7 separate regions of the Homo sapiens genome follow, and all the other regions are linked to region 6. Evidence: promoter capture Hi-C in 16 types of primary human blood cells and fetal thymus (Javierre and others, 2016). All regions are on one chromosome and are shown on one strand. Each heading gives the region's core, a stretch centred on a gene start or on the middle of the fragment in contact. The rest is flanking DNA. Distances are from core to core; before and after follow the strand shown.

Region 1 (2,700 bases), core at 82-2,581, 510 kb before region 6:
TATTATATAAAATATAAAATTGTGATACATGTATATATTATAATTGTATTATATTTTATCCAATATAATATTTGGATAAAATATCAAAAATAATTTTTTGGATAAATTTAAGAGGTAGCCTAATATATAAGGGTGACTTTTCAGTCCAAACAAATGCAGACAACTCATACATCTATGTGTGCACTTACTGGTTTATATTTCAGTAGTCTCTTTTCTTGCTTGTCTCCATCTCTAAAGCATGAGCTCCTTGATGGAACAGATCACCTTGGGACACTATGTAATACAGCATACTGCTTAAGTGCATAGAGCCAGCACTTCTGGGTTTAAATCTCACACTTAGGGAATGTGTATCCTTAAGTAGGTCATCTAGCCTTTCTGTGCGTAAGTTCTCTCATTTGTAAAATGGGTATAATAATAGTAGCAACTTTAAGTAAGGTAAAAGTGAGAGAGAGAGAGTGAGAGTGAGAGGGAGCGGGAGAGAGACAGCGAGGGCGAGCGCTGGTCTTGAACTCCTGGGCTGAAGCAATCCTCCTGCTTCTGCCTCCCTAAGAGTTGGGATTACAGGCGTGAGCCACCGCACTTGGCCAAACGTTTTACTTTTTAAATTAGATTAAAAACCTTTTAATGACCGTCATTGAGTTACAGAATTTTTTTTTTAATAAAACGTAGCCTAATATATAAAAGGGTCATTGTTTCCAGGTCAAACAAATGCAGATAGCTGTGTTGGAGGGCAGAGGGAAGAGGGAGACTTGGAGGATTCTGGCAGGAAACACTCGAGTTTCCTCCAGTCTCTGCAACATCTTCCCACCGTCTTGCCTGCCATATGCAAGGTCCCTCCAGTTCCTTTTATTTACCTGTCAGAGGACTACTTTCTCCAGGAAGCCATCTCTGGCGTCCCACGCTTAGGCTCTGTCAGGCAAACTGATCGCCCTTTTATGCAACTGTCTGTTTAGCTGTCTGATACCACACAACTGTGACTTGCGCATTGGGGCTATGTCTGATTTTTCTCTGCGGAGTACTCAGGAAAGGAACGACTGATCTCTTCAAGCGAATCCTGTTAACAGCTAAGAGCCTCCTCTTACTTGGATCCCTATTGTTGACTGATGGAGACGGTTTCCCTCTCCATCAGTCACTCCTTGCCTCTCAGTTTCTCAGCCTCACCTGGAAACTTTAGAAATGAAGACCCTCAGATGTGCTCCCACGTTCTTTCAGCGATAATCTCTACAACCTTAGGGCATTAGCTCCGCCCCGTCTCGGCTCCTGACCCCGCCCCCTCCCGCACGCCTCCCTAAGCCTGGGTCACAAGTACGCATGCTCTCCCTTCTTCCCCGTAGCGTGATGACGTAAGCGGCGTTGGCGTGGTGTGGTAGGAGTGGTTGCGCGTGTTGCGGCCCGGGTTCTGTTCGTAGGTTTACAATTGTCGCGGGTAGTGGGGCGCCCCAGCTGCCAACTGCACGTGGTTTCTTTCTGGCGTTTGCCTAGTGTCCTGTCCATTCCGCCCCGTTGGGAAGTGGGAAGCGGAGAGGTTCTGTGGGGACAGAGCTGGGAGTCCTGAAGGAGAAAGCGCGCAGCCGAGGGGCTCTGGAGTGCCTTAGAGCAGAGCTGCGGCCGCGGAAGGGGAGCAGCTGAGAAAGGAGGGCCGCTGCAGGCGGGGTTCGAACCGTGGGGTCTGGGCTGCTCCCGCGGAGGGCCTGGGCGGACGCGGGATGCTGGGGGTCCGCTGCCTGCTGCGGTCCGTGCGCTTCTGTTCCTCCGCCCCCTTCCCCAAGCACAAACCTTCAGCCAAACTGAGCGTGCGGGACGCTCTCGGGGCTCAGAACGCGAGTGGGGAGCGCATTAAGATCCAGGTTGGTGAATGGGAAGGGAGTGGGTTTTTTCTTGTAGGGACTTTTATATGGCACATCCACATCTAGCTTTTCTTTTACAGTCGGGTCAGACACAACCGCCAGCAGGGAAAAGTTAGAAAGTGTAGGCGTCGCGGGTTTGCACTTTTCTGATTTCCATTACTTTTCACAAAACTGTTCCGATAACTGTAAAGCGCTGGAACTTTGCTTTCATGATTCCAGGGTATTACCTGTAAACTTGTTAATCATACCAAAAGTGTAAATGAACAAGCCCCCTTTCTCTATCTTTATCCCTTATAATGAATATCCAGGTTTATAAAGTGGTTGTCTTGACCTCCCTCCTTGAGAGCAGAAACCGTGTCTTACCTGCCTTTGTATTCACACATGGCTGACAGCAAATACTTGTTCAAACCATGCCTTTTAAACTTTTAGCGACCTCAGTGCCTATTGTGGGGGTCTGCATGTAATTTATTTTTAATGAATTCGGAGAAAGACTGGAATGTAGCAGTTTGAAAGAGCTCTGGAGTTAAGCTGCTTAGGTTTAAATCTCTGCATAGCGTTTATGCGTTCTACACCTTATTTTCCTCTTATGGAAAGAGATAATAATTGTCCCTGAGTCCTGAAAATTAAATGAGGTAATGGAAGTAAGATATTTAGAACAGTGGCTCATAGTCTACAAATGTTAGCTGCTATTGTTTCTCTTGCTGATTATATTATTTGCAGCAGCTCCACATAGAAGAGGTGCAGAATAAACAAGGTGTTTGACTGTTTCTTATTAGGTTGCTGAAGTACACTGATGTGGTTATTTATTTTTTGAGACAGGGTCTAGCTCTGTCACCCAGACTGGAGCGCAGTG
Region 2 (2,700 bases), core at 1-2,500, 460 kb before region 6:
TTTATCATTAGTTCACTTGAATTTTCCAAAATATTTAAGCTTCTTACTTGTAGTACAGACTTTTGTTTTTAGTGAAAAATGTAACACTGAAAATACAAAGTTGTCATTTTTTTCTTTTTACTAATTTTTCTTGCTTGAATCCCAAACATGTAATCAGAATTTATTTAAATTAATCATATTTATGGAAGTAAAGGCAATTTATAGTTTATACCTGAACCGGGTATTAGTCTATTTCATTTTAAAGAGAGTAGTATTTGAAACAGACGGAATAATTTTTTTTTCAGTAATTGGTTTAAATAAAATTAACTCATACCTACATTTTGAGAGGTGTACAGCAAATTACATCTTTTAAGTCAGATCAAATGAATTTTAGCAACTGTCAGACCTCTGGAAAGTCACTGTATTCCTTGGGGCCTACCTTTTCTTTAAAACGGGATTGAGAAAGAAGACCTTTAAAATCCTGTCTAAATCTTATATTCTGTAATTCTGTGGGTAATTCCCATTTATTTTTATTTTTTTTAGAGGTGGGATCTCGCTTATTGCCCAGGCTGGAGTGTAGTTGCACAGTCATAGCTCACAAACTCCTGGGCTCAAGTGATTCTCCTGCCTCAGCCTTCTGAGTAGCTGGGACTACAGGTATATACCACCAAACCTGGCTAATTGTTTGTAGAGATGGGGTCTTGCTATGTACCAAGGCTGATCTCAAACTCTAGGCTCAAGTGATCTTCCTGCCTTAGGCCTCCCAAGTAACTGGAACTCAAGGCATGTGCCAGCACACTTAGCTAATTTTTAAAATTTTTTGTAGAGGTGGGTTCTCACCATGTGTCCTAGGCTGGTCTCAAACTCTTGACTCAAGTGGTTCTTCCGCCTCAGCCTCCCAAAGCACTGGGATTACAAGCAGGAGCCACTGAGCCTGGCCTCTGGGGGTAATTTGTTAATGCAGACTCATCAAGTACTGAGTTTTCTTTATGTATCTTTTTCTTTAAATATTTTCTCATTATAGAGATTAGGACTTAAAAAAATCTTTTCTGGAAATAGCTCACTTGAAAGGAAGGGAATCTTTTGGTGTTTTCCATTGTTTTAAAAATGCACAGATGAGAAAACTCAAGGAAAATGTAATAGAATAGTTTGCATATTTACTTTTGTACTTTGCTAGAAGAATGGAAAGTCAGTGGTGGAATAAAGATGGTCTTGAAAGTAACATGTTCTTTTCTGATTTATCTTTGAAACAAAAATATGTTATTTGATAGTTCCAATAACCAAATGACTGGCAATATTAGCAGAATACTATGCAGAAAAAGTGTCATAATAACATGGTGAGATTATAGGATTTGCAGATCTGGATGTAGGAAAGGCCGTGTCAAGCCTGTCATGGAATGTTCTTATGCCTACGGAATTATAATTTAAAAAAATTAAAAACATGACTCATTCAAATACAAAATGAATTTGTATCAAAGTTTTCATTCAGTTGATTATATTACAGAGGAAACAAGTAAAATAGAAAACTGTTTCAAAGAGCATCTGAAGACCTCTGTATTTATAGACATTTTAATAGTTGGAATAAGAGTGCTAGGTCAGTTATAAACTGGTTAATGTCCTACAGGACCAACACACCCTAAACTTTGGGATTATCTCTTCTACCTGGTAGAGTTATTTGCAACTCTGCTGGGAAAGATCTGTAAATTAGCGTGTAACTTCACTTAATACGGGTTATTTAATTCAATATTAAATAGACTAATGGAACAAGTACATTTCCCTTTCCCTAAGTAATTAAGTAATCGTCGAATGGGCCTTTGTCCCCTCATTGTGTAATACCTTGAAAGGACATCACCTTTTTAAGGCTACAGCTTTTGGCCTTATATTCAAGGTTTGGATAACCTTTCTTAACAGCCTTTTAGTATTCATTTCTATTATTTATAAAGTTAGAAGCAAGGTGTCTCATCCCTCAGAAGTGTCATATGTGAAATATATAAACTTAGCAAATGTTTGTTTCTCTATTATAATACCACTAGTGTATTAAATATGCCTCTTTCCCAGTAAAGCGCAGTGAACCACAGAACACAGTGTTCTGTGAAACTTGACGGAAGATTAAATTGGTAGAATACTAGGTTTTGTATTTTTTAGTGTGCCATGAAGTATTTGTACTACTGTCATTCAAATGTTCCTAGTTTAATATGCACAGTTCTAGGACTATTAATATGCAGAACATAATGTTTTTGATTAAAGTATGATTTATTCTCCAATAAGAAATTGTTAGTCCTTTTTCCCTCAGCTTTGTTTTTTCTTGAATTCAATTTAACAGACTTTGTAAAAGGCAAAAGATTTATGCAATCTGAAGAGAAACCAGAGTATTAACAGACTTTTAAAATGGAGAAAATGGTAGTTAAATTTAGACAGTTAACATTTTCCAAAAGGATATCTCTGTTGCTTTAGTGGGTTTATGGTTCCATTTTAAAGCTTTTTTTAAAGTAAATATTCTATGTTGGAATAATTTTTAATATATAGAAAGTTGAAAAGATAATGCATAGTTTTGTGTATTCTCTATCCAGTTTCCCCCATTGTAAACATCTTCCATGACCATGATACATTTGTCAAAACCAAGAATTAAATGTTATCACATTACTATTAATGAAGCTCTAGACTTTATTTGGATTTCACCAGCTTTTCCATCAATACCCTTATTCTTTTTCCAGGATCCAA
Region 3 (2,700 bases), core at 148-2,647, 430 kb after region 6:
GCTGGAGTGCCAAGGCGCGACCTCGGCTCACTGCAAGCTCCGCCTCTCGGGTTCACGCCATTCTCCCGCTTCAACCTCCCGAGTAGCTGGGACTACAGGCACCTGCCACCACGCCCGGCTAATTTTGTTTTTGTATTTTTAGTCGAGACGGGGTTTCACCGTGTTAGCCAGGCTGGTCTCGATCTCCTGTCCTCGTGATCTGCCCGCCTCGGCCTCCCAAAGTGCTGGGATTACAAGCATGAGCCACTGCACCCGGCCTAGAGTTTTATTTTTACTCAAATCAGTTTCCCAGAGCATTCAGGGATCAAAGTTTTTTTGTTTTTTGTTTTTTGTTGTTTTTTTTTTTTTTTTGAGACGGGGTCTCGCTCTGTCGCCCAGGCTGGAGTGCAGTGGCGCTATCTCGGCTCACTGCAAGCTCTGCCTCCCGGGTTCACGCCATTCTCCTGCCTCAGCCTCCCCAGTAGCTGGGACCACAGGCGCCTGCCACCACACCCGGCTAATTTTTTTGTATTTTTAGTAGAGACGGGGTTTCACCATGTTAGCCAGAATGGTCTTGATCTCCTGACCTCGTGATCCGCCCGCCTCGGCCTCCCAAAGTGCTGGGATTACAGGCGTGAGCCACCGCGCCCAGCCAGGGATCCAAGTTTTTAAGGATAATTTGGCAGGTTGGGGAAGGCCAGTGAGTCAAGAGTGCTGATTGGTTGGGTGGGAGATGAAGTCACAGGGAGTTGAAGCTGTCCTCTTGCGCTGAGTCAGTTCCTGGGTTGGTGGGGAGGGGGCACAAGATCACATAGCCAGTTTATCCATCTGGTGGTGCCAGCTGATCCATCAAGTGCAGGGTCTGCAACATATCTCAAGCACCGATCTTAGGTGCAGTTTAGGGAGGGTCAGAATCTTGTAGCTTGCAGCTGTAATTTCTAATCTAAACCATAATTTCTAATCTTGTGGCTGATTTGTTAGTCCTACAAAGGCAGTCCAGTCCCCAGGCAAGAAGGAAGTTTGTTTTGGGAAAAGGCTGTCATCATCTTTGTTTTAAACTTCAAACTGTAAACTAAGTTCCTCCCAAAGTTAGTTCAGCCTATATCCAGCAATGAACAAGGACAGTTTGGAGGTTAGAAACAACATGGATTTGGGTAGGTCAGATCGCTTTCAGTGTCTCAGTTATAATTTTGCAGTGGTGGTTTCACTGTGACAATCCTGAGGGACTTCCCACAGAACCCTCAGTTATTGAAGCCCAAAGCCTCAGAAATGGCGAGGAAGAAGGGGAAGGGTGTTGCGCGGTCAAACTCCACACGTTCTTAGCCGACCTCCGCCGCTTTTCCTAGAATGTCTCATCTCTATGGTCGACGGCGTTCAGATTCCGGGGCAGACTAAGTTGTTCTTCCGGGGTGACTGCCTCTTCCAGGGCGGGCGGTGTGGTGCACGCATTGCTGTGCTCCAACTCCCTCAGGGCCTGTGTTGCCGCACTCTGCTGCTATGAGCTTCCTCAAAAGTTTCCCGCCGCCTGGGCCAGCGGAGGGGCTCCTGCGGCAGCAGCCAGACACTGAGGCTGTGCTGAACGGGAAGGGCCTCGGCACTGGTACCCTTTACATCGCTGAGAGGTAGGGTTCCTGGTCCCCAGCGCTGGCCTCCTGCGCGCCGCCCTCCTCCTTGCTGGAGCAGGCGGTGCGAAGGAGCCGGGCAAGGGGCGGCCTGGAGGCCTGCTGGGAGCGGGGTCTCGTGCCCGACGCCTCAGGGATACCTGTAGCGGGTGGAAGGCTCGATTTTTCTAGTACTCCTCCGGAGTCTTCCATTCTCTGTTTTCTCCGGCCGGAATTTCCCCTTATGGATTGTGCTTTTTTTTTTTTTTTTTCTTTTTTTCCTCTTTCTCTTTCTCTGTCTCTTTCTCTCTTTCTTTCTTCTTCTTTTCTTTCTTTCTTTCTTTTATTTTCTTTTTTTTTTTTTTTTAACTCGCCTATTTACTGGAGGTCTGGCGCGTGCGTTGCCCTTAACGCACGGTCTGGTTTTAAGGGTCTGAAGTGTGCCTGTCTTTCCGGATGAACAGATGCAGGAGATGTTCCCCTCTCTGGGATACGTAGTTTCAGAGCCGACTGTGGAGGACTTTTAAAGTTTGGTTACACAATAAAGATTTTCTTCTGTAGGTATAGTAAGGAGAGGAACACCCTTAACTCGACACAGACAGGGGTCATATGCAGAGGGACCAGACTCCCGTTTTGGGGTCCTGGAAGGAATTGCCCTTTTATTTGGCCACGTGGAGCACTTTGGTATTTTGACAGTCAGATAGATCTACCGTAAATATTGTGGTTGTAGAACAGAGGTCCCTGTTTCCTTGACATGCAGTTTTCTTTATTTTGAAGCCTGTAATGACACATCGAATCTTTCCTGCCCTTCAGATATGTGTTGCTTCCCCTTTTGCTCCATCACTTGTCTACAGCCAGAGAAAATTCTCTACTTTTAAGAGCTCATGTGATTACTTTGGAACCACCTGTAAAATCCAGGATAATCTCCCTATGTTACTGTCGACTGGTAACCTTAATTACGTTTGTGAAGTCCCTTTTGCTGTGTAATATAACATATTCACCCGCATGACACCAGAAAGTGAAGGTCGTGGGGCCAAAATTCTGCCTACTACAGAATCCAGAGCACAAAAACTGTAAAGAACCTCTGCTTTAAAGGGAAATTTAGACATTGAACAAGGTT
Region 4 (2,758 bases), core at 224-2,723, 480 kb before region 6:
AACTTAATATAAAAAAGAAAGAAAAGTAATATAATCAGTGTATTTTATTATGTAAATACTGTGGTCTAGAAGAATGTAAGTAGCCTTTATATAGAGATATAAAGAACTGCTGACTTTGACCACTATAAATTAGGACTTAAACAGGTGTGTTATATTGGTGACTCACATATCATGAACAGTTTGCTATTTGTGATGAGAATACTGGAGTGCAGTGGCGCGATCTCACCTCACTGCAACCTCTGCCTCCCGTGTTCAAGCAATTCTTCTGCCTCAGCCTCCTGAGTAGCTGGGATTACAGGTGCCCACCACCACGCGCAGCTAATTTTCTGTATCCTTTTTTTTTTTTTTTTTTTTTTTGTGAGACGGAGTCTCGCTCTATCGCCCAGGCTGGAGTGCAGTGGCACGATCTTGGCTTACTGCAAACTCCGTCTCCCAGGTTCACGCCGTTCTCCTGCCTCAGCCTCCCGAGTAGCTGGGACTACAGGCACCCACCACCGCGCCTGGCTAATTTTTTGTATTTTTAGTAGAGACGGGGTTTCACCGTGTTAGCCAGGATGGTCTCGATCTCCTGACCTCAAGTGATCTGCCTGCCTCAGTCTCCCAAGTGCTGGGATTACAGGCATGAGCTACTGCGCTCAGCCGGTAACTCATTCTTGATAAGAGTTCCGCATGAAAGTATTAGCTTTCCCTTGATTTACATGGAAGATGCATTCTGGAAAATTCAGAGCATATTAAAATAATACAATTTACCTAATTCACTAACATGAATGTTCCATTGCATATTTGAAACTTGGGGTAGTACCCACTAAATTTCAGTAGCTCTCCCCAGTTATGACAACCAGAAACATTCCCTCTAAAAAGGACTTTTTAGGCCATTATAAGAATATTGGCTGTGAGTCTTTGGAGAGTTATAAGCAAAGGAGTAATAAATCACTTATATTTTAATGAGATCATTCTGGCTGCTATATGGAGATTAAATCAGGGAGAGGTACAGAAGAAGAGAAACCAGTTAAAAGTCTAATGCTGTATTTTAGGTGGACAGATAGTGATTTACACAGGAGTTGAAATTGTACATCCTCAAATGTGGTTGGATTCTGGAGAGTGAGAGAGAGTTTTTTTTTTTTTTTTTTTTTTGAGACAGAGTCTTACTCTGTTGCCAGGCTAGAGTGCAGTGGCACAATCTTGGCTCCACCTCCCGGGTTCAAGCGATTCTCCTGCCTCAGCCTCCCGAGTAGCTGGGACTACAGGTGCGCGCCACCACGCCCAGCTAATTTTTGTAGTTTTAGTAGAGACGGGTTTTCACCATGTCGGCCAGGATGGTCTCAATCTCTTGACCTCGTGGTCTGCCCGCCTTGGCCTCCCAAAGTGCTAGGATTACAGCCATGAGCCTCTCTGCCTGGCCGGATTCTGGATATATTTAGAAAGTAGCTTATGCATCTTGGATCTTGGTACCAGGGTACATGTTTTTTGTTTTTGTTGTATCTATTCCTGCTGTGTATTTTCCCAGAAGTGATTATGTTGAATAGTTCACCTCTGCTAGACTTTTGAACTTTTAATATAGAGAGAATTATTTTTTTTCCTACAAATGGTTATTTCCATTGCTAATTAAAAGTAGAAAAGTAGCGTTTCTTCTTTTTAAAAAACATGAACTTTCATGTTGCTAGTCTGGACATTAGAATTCAAGTAATCATAAATGAAAAGAAAATGTCAGCTTCATAAACACTGGAAAGTTTTTTGAGTTTATACTCTTTAGGGCCAATACCATCTAATTATTAGGGGAAATTGGTTTTTGTTGGAAATTAGACATTTATTTTATGCATGCCATCTTTGAAGGAAGCATTCCATGGCATTGTTGACTTCAAGAGACACTTTGATCTCAAAAAATGATGTGAATCCCTTTTGGATAATCTTTGGATAGCATCAAAATCGTGACTTTTATATGAGTATGCTTTATAATGGCTTATTCTTTTTTTTTGACACGTAGTTTTGCTCTGTTGCCCAGGCTAGAGTGCAGTGGCACCATCTCAGCCCACTGCAACCTCTGCCTCCTGGGTTCAAGCAGTTCTTGTGCCTCAGCCTCCCTAGTGGCTGGGATTACAGGCACCCACCACCGTACTTGGCTAACTTACTCTTGATTACCACAGCCAGAGGTAAAGGGCAACCAAGCCCTTCTGTTCCAGTTATCAATAACTTAACTTCCTCCTTGCAGCAACTGCAAGAAAGTATATTTTGTGGGGGGGTTTGTTTTGACCCAAGGTCTCGCTCTGTCGCCCTGTTGGGAGTGCAGTGATGAGCCAGCGATCATGGCTGTCTGCAGCCTTGACCTCCTGAGCTCAAGTGATCCACCCACTCCAGCCTCTAGAGTTACTAAAACTACAGGTGCGCACCACCACACCCAGCTAATTTTTAAAGTAGAGTCAGGGTCTCACTATGTTGCTCAGGCTGGTCTTGAACTCCTGGTCTCAAGCAATCCTCCTGCCTCCACCCCACCGAAGTGCTGGGATTTATAAGTATTTATTGAGTACCTGCTGTGTTTAGTGGTAGTCAAGTCCTTTGTGTGGATACGTGGTTTGGAGACTTAACTCTGGAGCATAGGTATCCCTTCTCACAGAAGTCCTAGTTAACGGACTAGGACCATATCTTATCATATTCATCCTTAAAGCCCCAATCTGACAATGAATAAGCCAAAATTAATATTTTTCAAGCAATAGTGAAAAAAAGTTTGGTTCATTTTTCACCGACCCCTTTACATTTAGGA
Region 5 (2,700 bases), core at 186-2,685, 410 kb after region 6:
ATTCTTAATGAGTTTGCATGAGCTCTTTAGGGTACTAAAAGTCTAAATGAATATCAAAGAGAAAGGACACTCTAAGAGGATGTAACTTGACATTGCAATGTAGCATATACAGTCAAATCCCAACTGAAGACAGCTGGGAACCTACTAGTATTGATATCGGCCACCTATGGCTTCCTTATCACTCCTCCTTGCCCATTTCAGAGCCACTTTACCCACATTTGAGCACCTATCTTTCTCCCTAGTCCTGTCTCTGAGGAGGTATCTTCTTTTTGCAGTACCTTGTCTGCCTGTGTCCTTGATCGGTCGTCTTTTTATTACCGCCTCTGGGTCTTTCACATCTTACTTTTCTATCTCTGATCTCCATTACTTGACACACACTCCTCTCTAAATAAAGTTCTCCCTATTGTGGAAAATGAAAGTTTGATCCTGTCTCTGGTTCAATACCCTTCCCAGTTACTTCTTATTTAACTTCCAGTCTTTAAAATAAATAGACTATGGAAAACCCTAAAGTGTATTTGGAAATTATTACTGAAATGTCAGAAATTCCTAAGAGAAACTCCAGGAAACAAACCACCATCTCAGCAACATACTTTATTATCAGGAACAGCTGTTACAGAAAGCTGAAACTTAAAACAGGAATGTGATTCCTCCCTTTTCCCTGTACTTGCTTCATGTTTGTCTGTTGAATGTAATGTGCATTTTGTTTTCTCTTTGACATTATTGCTTGCTAGTGGGACACCAGTAATTGCACTGTGAACTCACATAACCAAATAGCTCTTACTCTACCATTTAGAACCAAAAAGTTAGAGGAAGTACTTCATTAATGATGATAGAACCTTATTTGAACCTGTACTGTCCTAGCTTCAACCATAAAAGATTTTCTGTAGCAACAACAAAGAGAGGTAGCTGGCTCAATGCTATTAGGTTGGTGCAAAAGTAATTGCAGTTTCTGCTGTATATAATATACATATATCTATTTTTTTTAAAGGCAAAAACCACAATTTTTTTTTTTTTTTTTTTTTTTTTTTTTTTTTGAGACAGAATCTCGCTCTGTCGCCCAGGCTGGAGTGCAGTGGTGTGATCTCGGCTCACTGCAACCTCCGCCTCCCAGTTCAAGGGGTTCTCCTGCCGCAGCCTGCCGAATAGCTGGGATTACAGGCATGTGTGCCAACATGCCCAGCTGATTTCTTTGTATTTTTAGTAGAGACTGGGTTTCGCCATGTTGGCCAGGCTGGTCTGGAACTCCTGACCTCAGGTGATCCACCTGCCTGGGCCTTCCAAAATGCTGGGATTACAGGCGTGAGCCACCGCGTCTGGCCCAACAATTAGTTTTGCACCAACCTAATAGAAAATCAGAAAGTTGGCTTCAGATTCAGAATAATGCAGAAGTAGGGCTGGAATTTTACTGGCCAATGCTCTGAGCAGAACCAGGAGAGGGCCAGAGAGCCCAGGATGAAAGGCAAGGATCTCTTGGGTGCAGTGGCTCATGCCTGTAATCCCAGCACTTTGGGAGGCTGAGATGGGAGGATTACTTGAGGTCATAAGTGATGATGATGAGTGGTCACTACAGCCTGAGCAACAGAGCGAGACTCCATCTCAAAAAAAAAAAAAAAAGGAAAAGAAAGACAAGGATCCACAAGCAGGAAAAGTATATCAGAGAAGGGAGATGGAATGCTAAGAAGCCGTCTTTAAGATGACTGTCCCCTTTTTGACATAGCCATCTTTTTTTTTTTTTGAGATGGAGTCTCACTGTGTCGCCCAGGCTGGAGTGCAGTGACTCGATCTCGGCTCACTGCAACCTCCACCTCCCGGGTTCAAGTGATTCTCCTGCCTCAGTCTCCCGAGTATCTGGGACTACAGGCGTGCACCACCACGCCCAGCTAATTTTTTGTATTTTTAGTAGAGACAGAGTTTCATTGTGTTAGCCAGGATGGTCTCGATCTCCTGACCTTGCGATCCTCCTACCTCGGCCTCCCAAAGTGCTGGGATTACAGGCGTGAGCCACCGCACCCGGCGGACAGCCACTTTTAATAATCTGGATGTGCTTACATAACGATGTCCAAAAGAACTTGTAAGTTTTATTTATAAAAGTTTCTTGTTTTTTATTGAGATAATTCACATACCATAAAGTTCACCATTATAAAGTGTACAATTCAGAGGTCTTTAGTGTTACTGGTAGAGGGTCTTGACTGCAAGTTGTCCAGGTTCTTGGCGCTTTGAACAAAGAATTGGACAAAACACCCAGCAAAGCAAAGAAAGAATGAAGTAACAAAAGAAGGAAAGCAGGGATTTATTGAAAATGAAAGTACACTCCACAGTGTGGAAGCTGGAGAAGCAGCGACTCAAGGGCCCGGATACAGAATCTTCTCAGGTCCAAGTACCCCCTAGAGGTTTTCCATTGGCCACTTCCTGCTCACCTCATGTAAATGAAGTGGTAGCTCTCAATCGGTCTGATTGGTTGTGGAAAGCAACCAATCAAAGACTGAAGTGGAGGGTACAACGCTCACTCTCCTCTTTTTGCAACCAATCAGAGGCTAAGGTAAAGTTAGAAAGTTGCAAACGAAGACCGGCCGGCAAACAGTCTGATTGGTTTCAGGCAGCCAGTTTCCCAACTGCCCAGCAGAAAAGGTGGGGGGTTTGCAAAGGGAGTAGTAGCCTCTGGTCCTTTTGTTACTTAGGCTGTGGAAAGTTATGAGTTTT
Region 6 (2,781 bases), core at 249-2,748:
CACTCACCACCCCAGCCCCTCTGTGCATAGACATGTAGGCTTAGACTGGAACACATATTCATATGTACATACAACAGGGCTTCCCAACAGGCATGTCTGCATACTCCAGTTTGCCTGGAATGGATTAGAGTGCCATGACTGGTCCCTCGGCTTCCCGTTTGGTGGGTTCCAACCTGGGATGGTCAGAGTACCCCCAGCCTGTTGTAGCAGTACTGCAAGCAGCCTCACCTATGTATCCCCATGTGCCATATAATAATTTTCCATGTTCTGTGACTTGAAAAAATGTTGGGAAACACTGTCACACAAATGGAATTCACAATGTTCACTTAAATCAATGTGCATGCCTTAGGTAAGTTTTTTTTTTTTTTTTGAGATGGAGTCTCCCTCTGTCACCTAGGCTGGAGTGCAGTGGCACAATCTCAGCTCACTGCAACCTCTGCCTCCCAGGTTCATGCCATTCTCCTGCCTCAGCCTCCCGAGTAGCTGGGACTACAGGCACCCACCACCACGCCCAGCTAATTTTTTGTATTTTTAGTAGAGATTGGGTTTCACCATGTTAGCCAGGATGGTCTCAATCTCCTGGCCTCATGATCCGCCCGCCTCGGCCTCCCAAAGTGCTTTGGTGTGAGCCACCGCGCCTGGCCCCTCTTCAATTAAATTCTTAACAAAGTCACTGATGAGAACACACTCATTCAATTCACACATTTACAAGCATTCACATACTAATAAATGCACACATGCACAAACACATATATGTGCATATGAGATATGCCCTCACAGGCCACTTTTCCCTCTGTTTCCATATCACTTCATTGCAATTGCCAATTTGAGGTCAGAAGGATAGTAACACAGGCCTAGTCTTAGGCCCTCCTAGGTTGTGGTCCCAATACCCTGACCCAAGAGTGGCTCTGTCTGAAAGTCAGGCTGTTCCTCTCCCAGTGGGTTGCACCACTGCCCCCTCTCCTCTCCTGGAATGTCCCTTTGTAGACTCACACCCACCAGCATGGCCACCATTACCTTCCCTAGTGTCCAAGGTCTACCAAACTTGTCCCGTCATTTCCTGGTATTTCCTTGTCACCTCCTGGGCTTTCTCGGTGAGGTGCATGAGGATGTGATGGAGGCTGGAGAAGTGCAGGTGGAACTGGGCTTCCAGGTCCAGCTCTCCTGAGGCACTCTCGTCCTCGACTTCCTCTGTCTCTGCGGTTCCATTCTCTTCGCTGCCTGCCACCTTGGCCTGCCACTCCTCCCGCGGCAGCAGCCCATGGTCCACATCCACACAGATGGCCTTGAGCATGGTGAAGTAGGTGTAGAGATCAGGGGCCTCAGCCTGGGCCTGGCCCCCAGGCCCACTCAGCTGCACGTCCCGCAGAAGGCTGGGGATCATCACCACCTGCTCCATGTTGTGCACCTCGGCTGCATACCGGTCCATGACGGTCAGCAGGCAGTTCTTGGGGTAACGCTTGGTTAGCACCTGCATGGTTGCTTCCTCTGACACAATGAGACCAGCAGACTGCCCCCGCACTATTTCTAGGCTCTCGGCAGATTGACAGGATGCCAATGCCCAGCTGTTGGGTCAACACAGCCCTGTTTTGGGCCAATCCCAGGGCTCAGGCCCCAGCATCTGTATCAGGTGATCCATCTGCCCAGAGACAGATCTGCCAGCCTTCTACTTGTCATCCCAGCTCTGCATGACTGCCCCAGCAAGAACCCGACTCTTCCTCTGTCAGCTTGCTGAGCCAGTTGGAAGGAAGCTTTTCCCTTTGGCAACTGGTATACTGGACTTCAGGGCAATAAATAATTCTTTCAGGTCACTGGAGACCAAGCTGTCTCTTTGCTGCCTGCTTAGGGCAGCCCTCCAAAGCACAGTTCACTCCTTCAACCTGGGGTGACTCCATTGTGAAATGGAGAGGATTTGAAGTGAAACAGCTTGATGTGGGGCAAGGAACACTGAGGTTGGAGTCAGAAGCCCAGTACTGCAATTTCCTAGCTGAGTTTTTTTTTGTTTGTTTTTTGCTGGCTAACATTTATTGAGCACCTACTGCACATCAGGGTCTGCTGAGCTTTTTCGTGAGTGATCTCATTTAATCTTCACCACAACCCTTGTAAATGTTTTATTTATTTAATTTTTGTAGAGATGGTCTTGCTATGTTGCCCAGTCTGGTTTTGAACTTCTGGACTCAAGCAATCCTCCCACCTCAGCCTCCCAAAGTGCTGGAATTGCAGGTGTGAACCACCAGTATTCCTGTTTTGCCAGTGAGGAAATTTAGGTGCAGACAGCTAAAGTAACTTGCTCAAGGTCCCACTGGGGCTGGGATTCCAGCCCAGGACCACCTCTACCCACCTCCAGGCAGTGCTGTGGACTGACATGAGGTTACATAGTCATACAAGTTAACCAGATCCATATCCTCTGTAAATTTGAGGTGGTGTGAGGATTGAATAAGACAAACTAATAAAAATGCTTTGTATCAGTCCAGACAAGCGGCTGGGATCAAAAGAGGAAAAAAAATGCTTTGTAAACCACAAAGCCCAATCCTCAGATGTATTATCTATGCAGATTCTAGATTATTGCTAAGGCTTCTCCCAAATCTAACCAGTCATTCCATAAGCTACAATGCTTCCACTTTATTACTGACCTTTCCTTGGACCAGCAGTCTTGGAAGATAATAATCTTTTGCGTGGTCATATTGTCATAGTTTACAAACTGCATTTGCTATATATTTTTTATTAGATATTTAAGAAAATGGCCGGGCGCAGTGGCTCACGCCTGTAATCCCAGCACTT
Region 7 (2,700 bases), core at 45-2,544, 410 kb before region 6:
ATCATTGTCATTGTCATAATCCATTCTGCATACTACAAATCATAGTTGCAGTTTAAATTTGTGGGGAGAGGGACATCAGCAAGATGATGAATAGAGGGTCCCAGCCTTCACCACAGAAAGTCCATTTGGCAACTAGTCACATACAAGAACACCTTTTTGAAAATCCCAAAATTTGGGAATGAAATTGAGACACGCAGATGGACCACAGAGCAAAAAGTGCATTAGAAGGGTAGGAGCAATGGTCTCAGTTTGACTGAATCCTCCCTTCCCTAAGTAGGCACAATACCACACACAGAAGATTCCCCTTGGCACACAGTTAATGCAGTGGAAAAAGAGACAGCTATCCAGTTTCCCCAGCATTCTGTGATGCTTCCTAGGAGGCCCATTCCTGTCTCACAGGGAACCCTGGGGGTAAGGCCTAGACTACCAGGGGTCAAGTAGGAACAAAGGAGTGGGGCAGTGCTCACAGCAACCAGTACACGGATCTTAGTCATAGCTGTGTTCCTGCCAGCAGTAGCACCTGATCAGAGATACCAGCCAGTGGCATAGCCCATTTACAAAGCCTAGCTGGTTGCTGCAGAAGCTCAGTAGGAAAGTCTATCTGGTTTGAGCCCCTACAGGGCAGCCACCCCACCTAGCCTCAGCATCCACCCCCATGCTTTGCTCAGGCAGGCAGACATCACAAATGTTTTACATTTGTGTAAGATACAGATGGCCAATAGGTTTATCAAAAAGTGTCCAACATCACTAATCAATAAAATGCAAATTAAAACCGCACTGAGATAACCACTCACACCTGTTAGAATGGCTGTTATCAAAAAGTAGAATGAGACACGTTGGCTCATGCCTGTAGTCTCAGCACTTTGGGAGGCTGAGGTGGGAGGATCACTTGAACCCAGGAGTTCAGGACCACCCTGGCCAACTTAGTGAGACCCTGTCTCTACAAAAAATAAATAAATAAATTAGTCAGGTGTGGTGACATGTGCCTGTAGTGCCAGCTACTCAGGAGACTAAGGTGGGAGGATTGCCTAAGCCCAGGAGGTTGAGTTTTCAGTGAGCTATGATCACAGACGCTGCTGCACTCCAGCCTGGGAGACAGAGCAAGACCTTGTCTCAAAAAAAAAAAAAAAAAAAAAAAAAAAAAAGTCAAATGATAACAGGTGTTGGCAAAGATGTGGCGCTTGGGAACCCTTTTATAACTGTTAGTGGCAATGTAAATTAGTAGAGCTATTATGGAGGATAGTATGGGAGGTTTCTCAAAAAACCAAAAGTATATTTACCATATGATTCAGCCATCCTACCTCTGGGTACATATGCAGAACTGAAGTCAGTATGTCAAAGAGATATCTGCACTTACATGTTCTTTGCAGCACTATTCATAGTAGCCAAGATATGGAATCAACCTAAGTGTCCATCAGTAGGTGACTGGATAAAGTAAATGTGTATATATATACACAGTGGAATACTATTCAAAGGAAATCTTATTTGTGACAGCATGGATCAACCTGGAAGACTTAATGCTAAGTGAAAGAAGCTAGGCACAGAAAGACAAATACTGCATGATTCACTTTGATGTGAAATGTAATAAAGTTAACACTACAGAAGTAGTGAGTAGAATGGTAGTTACCAGTGGCCGGTGAGGGGTTCTTGAAGGGAATGGAAAGAAATTGTCCAAGGGGTACAAAGTTTCAGTTAGACCAGAGGAATAAGTGTTCAGGATTTATTGCATAACAAAGTGACCATAATTAATTGTAATGTATATCTCAAAATTGCTAAAGGAGTAGATTTTAAATCTTCTCACTGCAAAAAAAAAAGTGAAGCATGTGAGACGATAGATATGTTAATTACCTTGATATATTCATCCCACAGTGTATAATACCAAAAACACATTGTATCCTGTAAATACATAAAATATTTGTCAATTAAAAATTCAGACATTTTTAAATAAATGTATATGTGTGATTATTTGATTGGTATCTACTACCTCTGTGATGTCAGAGGCTATGTTTAAATTGCTTACTCTTATACCCCCAGGACTTAGCCCAGTGCCTTTAACAGGAACTCAGTAAATACTGAGTAATTGAGTGGACAAACAAGTGACTTGAGTAACTGTGGCTGTAAAGGTATTCTTTAGGCTGGATCCTCTCCTGAGGTTTCTTATTGGCTAATATCACTATTTATTTCAGTCACTGAGGGTAGTGAACCATGATTCAGAAAACCTGGATTCTAATCCTGGCCCTACCATTTACTAGCCATTAATGAGTAAATTATTATTTTTTAACAAATATTTATTGACTGCCTAATATGAGTTAGGCACTTTGCTAGTTCTTGAGAATAATGAAAACAAACATTGATTTATTTTTTTATGGAGTTGAAAATCTAGAGAAAAAGATGAACAGTTAAATATTTATATGAATAATGTAATTACGACTATGAACTTGATTAATAGTGAATCTTTAACTTTTCTGAACTTCAGTTTCCTCATCTATAAAAAAATACTCTGCCTTATATTGTTGAAAGGATTTAATGACAATACTGTTAAAAGCAATATGTCAGACTAGGTAATTTGAAAACACTCTTTCTGCAAAACATCTAAAAATAATACTTAAAATATTATAAGATTCTTTTAAATACGTTGTTGAATTCACTAGAAAGTAGGAGAAGTTCCAGGTGCTAGAAATGAAGAAGGAACCAAACACC

Evidence for each region. Contacts are between HindIII fragments. The CHiCAGO score rates a contact against its expected background, and 5 or more counts as called.
Region 1: the fragment with the promoter of NARS2 here is called in contact with the fragment with the promoter of THRSP in region 6 in 17 of 17 cell types (naive CD8 T cells, neutrophils, activated CD4 T cells and 14 more); the score reaches 30.3 in naive CD8 T cells.
Region 2: a contact is called between a fragment that was not itself captured here and the fragment with the promoter of THRSP in region 6, in 14 of 17 cell types (neutrophils, activated CD4 T cells, naive CD4 T cells and 11 more). The highest score is 9.1, in neutrophils.
Region 3: the fragment with the promoter of CLNS1A here is called in contact with the fragment with the promoter of THRSP in region 6 in 10 of 17 cell types (non-activated CD4 T cells, total CD8 T cells, activated CD4 T cells and 7 more); the score reaches 10.2 in non-activated CD4 T cells.
Region 4: a contact is called between a fragment that was not itself captured here and the fragment with the promoter of THRSP in region 6, in 3 of 17 cell types (neutrophils, monocytes and naive CD4 T cells). The highest score is 5.7, in neutrophils.
Region 5: a contact is called between a fragment that was not itself captured here and the fragment with the promoter of THRSP in region 6, in 1 of 17 cell types (endothelial precursors). The highest score is 5.6, in endothelial precursors.
Region 7: a fragment that was not itself captured here is called in contact with the fragment with the promoter of THRSP in region 6 in 2 of 17 cell types (activated CD4 T cells and neutrophils); the score reaches 5.7 in activated CD4 T cells.

The regions. Positions count from the first base shown.
Region 1 is chr11:78,573,495-78,576,194 of GRCh38, reverse strand. It overlaps NARS2 (asparaginyl-tRNA synthetase 2, mitochondrial), which reads left to right and starts at 1,331. Exons shown (of 14, transcript NM_024678.6): 1 at 1,331-1,847. The coding sequence starts at 1,707. RefSeq lists enhancers at 1,036-1,175, 1,836-1,945. The HindIII fragment of the contact is 10,208 bases long and covers 1-2,700 here.
Region 2 is chr11:78,526,047-78,528,746 of GRCh38, reverse strand. All of the region lies in intron 6 of NARS2 (asparaginyl-tRNA synthetase 2, mitochondrial), which reads left to right. Among named protein-coding and RNA genes, the nearest start is that of NARS2-AS1, 5.8 kb to the left of the region's middle. The HindIII fragment of the contact is 2,418 bases long and covers 42-2,459 here.
Region 3 is chr11:77,636,491-77,639,190 of GRCh38, reverse strand. CLNS1A (chloride nucleotide-sensitive channel 1A) reads left to right here and starts at 1,397. Exons shown (of 7, transcript NM_001293.3): 1 at 1,397-1,601. The coding sequence starts at 1,477. RefSeq lists enhancers at 1,256-1,495, 1,150-1,669. The HindIII fragment of the contact is 10,516 bases long and covers 1-2,700 here.
Region 4 is chr11:78,542,395-78,545,152 of GRCh38, reverse strand. All of the region lies in intron 5 of NARS2 (asparaginyl-tRNA synthetase 2, mitochondrial), which reads left to right. The region is part of intron 1 of NARS2-AS1 (NARS2 antisense RNA 1); the gene reads right to left. Among named protein-coding and RNA genes, the nearest start is that of NARS2-AS1, 11 kb to the right of the region's middle. The HindIII fragment of the contact is 4,377 bases long and covers 1-2,758 here.
Region 5 is chr11:77,656,346-77,659,045 of GRCh38, reverse strand. No RefSeq gene overlaps it. Among named protein-coding and RNA genes, the nearest start is that of CLNS1A, 20 kb to the right of the region's middle. The HindIII fragment of the contact is 4,015 bases long and covers 1-2,700 here.
Region 6 is chr11:78,062,578-78,065,358 of GRCh38, reverse strand. It overlaps THRSP (thyroid hormone responsive), which reads right to left and starts at 1,498. Exons shown (of 2, transcript NM_003251.4): 1 at 1,018-1,498. The coding sequence starts at 1,477. The coding sequence ends at 1,037. All of the region lies in intron 1 of NDUFC2-KCTD14 (NDUFC2-KCTD14 readthrough), which reads left to right. The HindIII fragment of the contact is 4,485 bases long and covers 1-1,753 here.
Region 7 is chr11:78,474,026-78,476,725 of GRCh38, reverse strand. All of the region lies in intron 9 of NARS2 (asparaginyl-tRNA synthetase 2, mitochondrial), which reads left to right. All of the region lies in intron 1 of LOC105369403 (a long non-coding RNA gene), which reads right to left. Among named protein-coding and RNA genes, the nearest start is that of LINC02728, 46 kb to the right of the region's middle. The HindIII fragment of the contact is 8,270 bases long and covers 1-2,700 here.